Regions from separate parts of the Homo sapiens genome. Here region 1 is linked to region 2. Evidence: promoter capture Hi-C in human tissues and cell types (Jung and others, 2019). All regions are on one chromosome and are shown on one strand. The core of a region is centred on a gene start or on the middle of the fragment in contact, and the rest is flanking DNA. Distances in the headings are between cores, read along the strand shown. Region 1 has its middle 11 kb from the start of GADD45A. Region 2 holds the start of GNG12 (G protein subunit gamma 12).

The links. Contacts are between HindIII fragments. The study calls those that stand out against the background at their distance.
Region 1: a fragment that was not itself captured here is called in contact with the fragment with the promoter of GNG12 in region 2 in 1 of the 25 tissues and cell types used here (aorta).

Annotation. Positions count from the first base shown.
Region 1 is chr1:67,693,815-67,697,856 of GRCh38, forward strand. No RefSeq gene overlaps it. Among named protein-coding and RNA genes, the nearest start is that of GADD45A, 11 kb to the left of the region's middle. The HindIII fragment of the contact is 9,732 bases long and covers 1-4,042 here.
Region 2 is chr1:67,831,020-67,834,853 of GRCh38, forward strand. It overlaps GNG12 (G protein subunit gamma 12), which reads right to left and starts at 2,448. Exons shown (of 4, transcript NM_018841.6): 1 at 2,325-2,448. GNG12-AS1 (GNG12, DIRAS3 and WLS antisense RNA 1) reads left to right here and starts at 1,269. Exons shown (of 10, transcript NR_040077.1): 1 at 1,269-1,417. The HindIII fragment of the contact is 19,373 bases long and covers 1-3,834 here.

The DNA of each region.
Region 1 (4,042 bases), core at 115-2,614, 140 kb before region 2:
CTCAAAGAGGCCAACCAGACAGCAGAGATTAGACTGGGGAAGGATGAAACTAATTGAATCGAATCTTTTACTTATCCAATAAGTGGGGCAGAGCCTTGGGAAATCTAAAGGAGACAAAAAACACTCAAGGGAGAATTCTAAGAATTGTCTTCTTTCATCTTAGAACTGGGAAAGTTCTAAGCATCATTGAAAAGTTGATCTTTGTGTCCCTGCATGCTTTTATGCTAATATCTTTTCTAGAATTGTCTGAGAAAGAATTTATACAGAAAAGCAGCAAACTTTCTTAGTATCATCACTTAACACATGATTATATCACCATATTGTAATCATCTTACCATCATTGAAATAAGCACTCAGCAAGAAATGGGTCATCTGGAGGTCTTCTGATTTGATTTTGCTTCTTTATATAACTGTGAAGGACAGGGCTAGCAAAAGATAAGAACAAGAGTACAGCAGTTAAGACAGTGGCCGCCACTCCAGGCCATTGTCTTAATACCAGCCTGTAATACCAGCACTTTGGGAGGCCTAGCTGGGAGGCTTGTTTGAGGCTAGGAGTTTGAGATCAGCTTGGGCAACATAGCAAGACCCTATTTTTGTAAGAAAGAAAAGAATAACAAAAATGAAGAAAAAAGACATTGGGTTTTAGAGGCAGAAAGACTTGAGCTTGAATCCTGGATCCTAGCTGGAACTTGGGAAAGTTAGTGTAACTCTCGAAGCCTCAGTTATTTCTCCTGTAAAACTGGGGAAATAAACAAGGCTTATATCATCGGGTTATGGTGAAAAGGAAAGGAAACAATGCATAGAAAGAACCTAGCTCAGTTCCTAGAAGCAGTCAATATATGTAAGCTAATAATAATTGCATCTTCCATGAACTGGTGATTTTCTATGCCTGTTTATATTCCATTAATATTTAATTGTTCTGTTTGCAAATTAGTTATATAAGTAAAAAAAAAAAACCACCCAGTAAACTACATAGCCCAACATAACTGAATTCAGCAAGACACCATCCAATTAAATTATGTTAATTTTCACTAATCTAGTTTCCCCTCTCCATTTCCATTAACTTAATTTAGTTCTTTATCTGTCATTTAGGCTATCAGAACAGTTTCTGTTCAAAATCAAGGTTGTGAGAACATAAGTACCGTGTATCAAGTACTGTGCTAGAGCTTGCTCCATAAAGATGATTGTGACACAGTTGCTACATGCAGTTTGCTATAGGAACTATAGGAAGCTGACAGACACACATAATTTTCAAGCCAGAGTGGTGTCACGGCAAGCATGGGTATGCACAATGTGTGTGTGTGTGTCTGTGTGTGTGTGTGTGTGTGTGTGTGTGTGTGTGTGTGTAGGGGGTGGTCAGGAAACCTTCCAGGAGAAGGTGATGCTTGATGTGACTCTTGAAGAGCATTTAGGAGCTCATTGGGGTGAGGGGTGTGGCATGTGTGGGGCTCTGTGGTGTTTGTTAGGGGATTAAGTATTTAAGGAAGGGAGTGGAGAAAGGCAGGCTGAGGAGGTAGACAGAAACAGATCACAGAGGATGTAAATAGGGGGTGGGGTTGGAGGAGAGTGATAAGGGTTTGGAATGGAAAGGAGTTGAAGAACTAATAAAAGAATAGTGAATACCACCCTCCACTCCCTACTCCCCACAGAAATTAGAAACACGACCTCCAGTTTTTCTTCAGTAGTTTATTTTCCTTGTTCATTCTAATTATCTTCATGTCAAGACCATGCTTAAAAATCTCTTACCGGCTGGGCACGGTGGTTCATGCCTGTAATCCCAGCACTTTGGGAGGCCGAGGCGGGCGGATCACGAGGTCAGGAGATCGAGACCATCCCGGCTAACACGGTGAAACCCCGTCTCTACTAAAAATACAAAAAATTAGCCCGGTGTGGTGGCGGGCGCCTGTAGTCCCAGCTACTCGGGAGGCTGAGGCAGGAGAATGGCGTGAACCCGGGAGGCGGAGCTTGCAGTGAGCCGAGATCCCGCTACTGCACTCCAGCCTGGGCGACAGAGTGAGACTCCGTCTCAAAAAAAAAAAAAAAAAATCTCTGAACAACTACCCTTCCCCCCATATAATTCAGTACAAACTCTTGGCCTTTGATTATTTGACCCAACTTTCCTTCCCAGCCTTGTCCACATTCTCATTCCCATACTTCCGTTGCAAAGATCTCTGTTGCTCTAACACTCCAGGCTTCCTTAGATCTTGGGGCTTTTGCATACACTATTTTTCACTGCTGAGAATATCCTTTCCCTATTCTTTACCAACAAACTCCTACTTGTTCTTCAAAGTTCAACTAATATATTATCTCTTCTATGAAATCTTTTCTGACTCATTCAGACAGAACAATTTCTTATGATAGCATTTACCATATTGCATAGCAATTTATCTGTTTATTTCCTACTGCCCCTGCACCTGTTACTCCCACTCCCACTATCCTTGTGTTTTCTGGGTTTATCCTAGGACATACCTACCACAGTGCTAGTAGGAGCTCAACAAATAAATAAATTTCTCTTTGTTCTGTTTCTATAAACCAAACGCACTGTCATTCATATTTAATGTTTGAGTGGGCTATTTTTCTTTTTGTAGTTATGTTTTATGAACTCATAAGGTGCTACTGACACTTTAAGTTTGTTAAAGAACTTTGCTCCTTAATTCTATTAGTGGTAGGCTGTCAATATTCAAAATGCTTTTCTATAATTCATTTTTCCTTAAAATTCTTTATAGACCTGTTGATGAGCCAGTAGCTGAAGTATCAGGAGGTGATTCTTTAAATATCTTTTAAATACCTATAATTATACACAACAAACCCACGTGCCCTCCTCTGGCTCCATACGCTAGACTTTGGTTCTTCTCCTGATTTTCAATTCAAGGAGGAAAATGTACAATGACTTGGGGTGGAGATGGCAAGAGGGTTGATCTCCTCTCAGATTTACAGATTTATATACAATTTAAAGCTAGAGGAAATGTTAAAAATTACCTAGCCTAAATCTTTTTTTTAAAAGTGAATGGGGAAGTAGAATCAGAGATCATAAGTGTCCTAAGGTTGCACAGTAAATGAGTAGTAATCAGTCCAGAACATGCATTTCCTGATTCCAAGATACGTATTCTTTCTCTTACGTCACACTGGCTACCCTGAAAAATGGTTTTCTGAAAGCATATCCAATATACTTTTGGATCTCTCCAGGCTTCTATTTCCTCATATGTAAAGTAGGAATAATAGGAGTAGCTGTTTCCTGGATTTGTTGTGAGAATTAAATGAATTAACAGATGCAGGCCAGGTGCGGTGGCTCATGCCTGTAATCCCAGCACTTTGGGAGACCAAGGCGGGTGGATCACCTGAGGTCAGGAATTCGAGACCAGCCTGGCCAACATGGTGAAACCCTGTCTCTACAAAAAATACAAAAATTAGCTGGGCATGGTGGTGCATGCCTGTAATCCTAGCTACTTGGGGGGCTGAGGGAGAAGAATCTCTTGAACCTAGGATGCGGAGGTTGCAGTGAGCCCAGATCTTACCACTGCACTCCAGGCTGGGCAACAGAGCAAGACTCTGTCTCAAAACAAAAACAAAAACAAAAAACAACCACCACACCCCCACCAAAAAAAAAATAAACAGATGCAAAATGCTAAGAACAGTACCTAGTCATAGTAAATGCCTGAAATATAGCACTGTTTATTCTTAAGGCCCAGGGTATTACACTCATGATTAGTAAAGGACTTACTTGTTTACCTTACCTTTTACTTAATCTAACAATTACCAAAGTTACTGTTTGTTTGTTTTCCCTTATTCAAACCATACTACAAATATTAAGATAGTCCATGGGCTGTACAATCTGCCTGGGTGTATGTTCTTAGGACCCACCCTTTTATGTTGTTGGATCTAGCACAATTTTCTTAACTTCTCTGAGCCTCAGTTTCCTCATCTGTAAGATGGGGTTAAATCACATCTACTTTCCTTTAAAGAGTTGTTTTGAGGCTTCAATGGGAGAACACATGCACAATGCCCAGCCTAGTGTCTGGAGTTCAGTGTTCCTCATTGCCTT
Region 2 (3,834 bases), core at 1,198-3,697:
AAATCAGACTGAAAAAGGTTAAATAGCTAATATTTTCATCTAAGTCTGTCTGACTCCAAAGCCAACACCCCAAATCACTGTTAAACAAGCTTCTCTTCCAAGTTAGGGCTCAGAAAAATTTACTTGCTTTCACAACTTGCCTTCCTAGGTTAAGCTTAAGCTGACATAAAACTCCAAAACAAAGCAAAACACAATAAATCACATAATTCTAATTTTAAAAAAAACTAATTTGATATTGGCTAACCACTTCCTCAAGTTTTCTGACCATGAAGCCCTTTGCTCTCACACTTTAATAAACCACCGATATTCTCTAACAAGTGACAACACAAATCCACAAATCTAATTGTTAGAGAGCTTTCAAGTAAGACTGGAGCTTTCTGGACAGGAAATTTTTATAATTCTATTTTTTTCAGGCTCTTGTGAAACACAGATTCACATTTTCATATATTTCTACACAAATCTAAGTGCTGTGTGCCCTGTTGGGGGTTCGATATCTAGTAAATTACATGAGTTAAATACAGCAAAAATAGGACTGCATTATTTATAAGGTCTAACGACGCAGTAGACTTTTCAGCATTTTTTGGACTTAAACCAGGGCTTTACGGCGCTGGTTAACTATTAGAGAAGGCAAAGGGACTGAACATTTTATCTGAAAGTCCTTTTATCACTTAAGACTCTGTAAAATTTTTGATTACTTTAAAAATTGTGTGTGTGAATAACGTTAGTTTACTAGAAAAGGGGCTTGCTAGTATATATAATTTGGTTAAAAAAACAAAAACAAAACAAAACAGCTCCTTACTTGAATGTGATTGTTTTGGCAATAGTAAAATTCAATCCCGTCGTTCTAGCGCTGCCTGCCTTCCTGGTTCTCCTAGGTGAGGGCCGCCATCCTGCGATAATTTACTTCGAGAGCTGCGAAGCGCTGGCAAGGGTGCAGTCTGGTGACTAGCACTTTTAAAAACAAAGCCAAACTCCGCTTTTAAAATAGAGAAGGCACAGACGCAGACCCTGCCTCTGACGACATCCAAAAGATTCATTATACACAGCCTATTCAGGCGAAGCTACAACCGCCCCAGGAAATATAAACTGTGTCGGCAAAGACAGCAGGGGGGAGAGGAAGTAACTGATGGGAAGGAAGCTAATCATGTGAAGTTTGTCCAACTCCACACGGTCTAATAAATTCCCGTTTGTTTCCGCTGGGAGCAGCCATTAAACGCGCCCTGACACGTGGGCGCAGGAACCTCCCTTCTACCTCTGGTGTTCAGAGATTTCCTTCTCGACCCACTTGTTTGTATACAACCACGCCCGGCAGGATGACCACCAGATGACCGGCCGCAGCAATGCCTCCACTCAGTCCCAGTTGGGCAAAGTTTCACTCCACTGCGGCGACGTGAACAAGAATCACGGCTTCCTTATCGTGAGTTATGAATGATTTAAGCCAAGTTTACAGGACACACAAAGCGAGGGACGAGTGAGTGACGGGAGGTGCTAAGTGACAGCGTTTTAAAGTTAGCTTTAATTGATATGCCCTAATTAAAATGAAAAACAGAATTCACCCTGCCCCACGGGATAACTGTCGGGGCAATAATTAAAAAAAAAAAAATCACCCAAGACTAAGCCTCAACCTCCCCCTTACCACTTGCAAATACAGTCTGCAGAAAAGCAGCCTCGGGTCCCCACTCGGGGGTCCCTCGCGGGGTGCGTCATATGGGCTCTCCCCTCTGCGACCCGCTATTTCCCTGCTAGACCCCCAGCGCCCAGCGGATTCCAAGGCTGCGCTCCCGCCGGCTGGTCCCGGGAGGTAGAAAGTAGGCAGAGGGGCGTGGCGTCCCTGTCGCCCCCACATGCCAGCCCTCCTCCAACGCCTGACACCACCACAAGCCACGGCTGGGAACACTGGGGGCCTCCCAACCCGGCGCGGGGCGCACGGCCGCAGGCTGGCGAGGAGGCAAGCGAGCTCAAGGGGAGACCTTTCCTTCCACCCCCAGCCCTAGCCCCAGCCACAGCCGTGGGGGCGGCTTCCCGCAACCTCGGGCGGCCGCCCGTCGAGGGCGCGCGCGCCGTTTCTGCCTCTGGGTCTCGGTGTCCCTTGGCCCCTTCCTCCCCCTCCCCCCGGTCTCCGGCGCCCAGCGCCCAGACCAGTCCCCGCCCTCCAGCAGGACACTCTTCCCTCCTTCCTTCCTTCCTCCGCTCCCTCCCTCCATCTCGCTTCCCAGCACCCGGGACTCGGAGGCGGCCCCCGAACTCGCTGGCCGACGCCCCGCGCCGCGCCCCGACCCCGCGGGGACCCGACTCACCACCCGCGCCCGCCGCTTGGTACTCACCCGCCTGCCGGTGCGCTGCCCCGCCGTCGCCGCCGGGACTCGGTCTCTAAGGGCTCCTGGAGACGGCTCCGACCTCTCCTCCTCCTCCTCCTCTTGCTCCTCCGGGCGCCGGCTCCGCCTCGCTGGGGTGGGCGGGGCGGCGGCGGCCCCGGGCTCCTTCCTCCGCGCCGGGCCCTGCCTCCCGCCCGGACGCCCTGGCTGTGCTGTCCCGGGCCGGGGAGCCCGCGTTGTGGCCCCGCAGGAGGAGGGGCGAGGCCTGGCCTGTGGAAGCTCGGTGGACGTCTGGTCGTCTTTGGCCATCCCCCTTCCTCTAATTCTCATGGAGGACCTGAAGTTCTAGGACTTGAGGGCCCCCACTCTACGACCCGCCCCCGCGCGGGGCCGCCCTGACTCCTCGCAAGTTTCCTTCGCGTGCGAACGCCTCGCTTGCCCCTGTGCCAGCGGTCCCCAGGGCTGTGAGGATGAGCGCTGCCAAACCCCTACACGAAAGTTTGGTTCTGTTCCAGAAACTATGGAGGAAAACACGCATAGTAACATTTAAAGGGCCCTGGGGCCACGGAGAGAAGTTTCCCAGAAAGTGGAGGTATAACTGCGGATTATAGAATTTGTAGTACATCCACCCACCATGAGCTTCCCGTCCATCTGCCCCGACCCCCTGAAATTTGTTTCCGAATGTCCAGTACCTGGCAGAGTTCTGCCTAATGAATTAATGGGATTTGGTTGGTCTTTTCTGGAAGGGTTCAAGGTCGGGTAAATGGAGGAGCCATTTCCGCTTCCACAGATTTTGTACTATTCCTTTGGCCATTCGACAGACATTACCAAGCACCCGCTGTGTACCAACTGCGATGCTAAAGGTGATGGGAGAGGTACAAAGATGAATCAGACAAGGGGCTTGCCTTCTTGGAGTCCAGAAAGAGTAAAGAAGCTGGATGTTCAGAAAACCACTCAGCGGACTTCTAGAGTATTCCTAGGTAGCCGCTTTCTTGTTTGACAGGGTGGAGAGAAAAGAGGTGAGGCCAAAGTAGGTCACTTAGAACCAGTGTGGGCAGAGTCCACACTTGAAATGGAGTCTGAAAGCATTGGTGAGGGATGTCTGTGTATTGAGTTTCACCAACTGAGGACAAGTGGGCCCTGGGGAATCTGGGAACTAGGGACTGCAGTCAGGGCATTATATTCCCTCTTGCTTTCCTTCTGACCCCTAAGCAAGTTTCAGGTTTAGTGAAATCATTTGCACATGTAGAAGAGGTGTCACAGGTAGAGTAGGTGTATGAATGCATGCCTTGCCCCAGGAGTGTGGTCTTAGCAAGCTGCGGATGGCGGTGGTTTGTGGGATGCAAGCCACAGACTGCCAGAGGGGTCTTTATTTCCTGTTCTGTTCAGCATTAGGAAATGCTTGACTGATTCACAAGTACTAACAGTTCAAATGATACACCTGAAACAGAACAGCTTGACACCACAGGGACTGAGAGGGTGGCATACTGGAGTTTGTATTTTTTGGCCACAGACCACA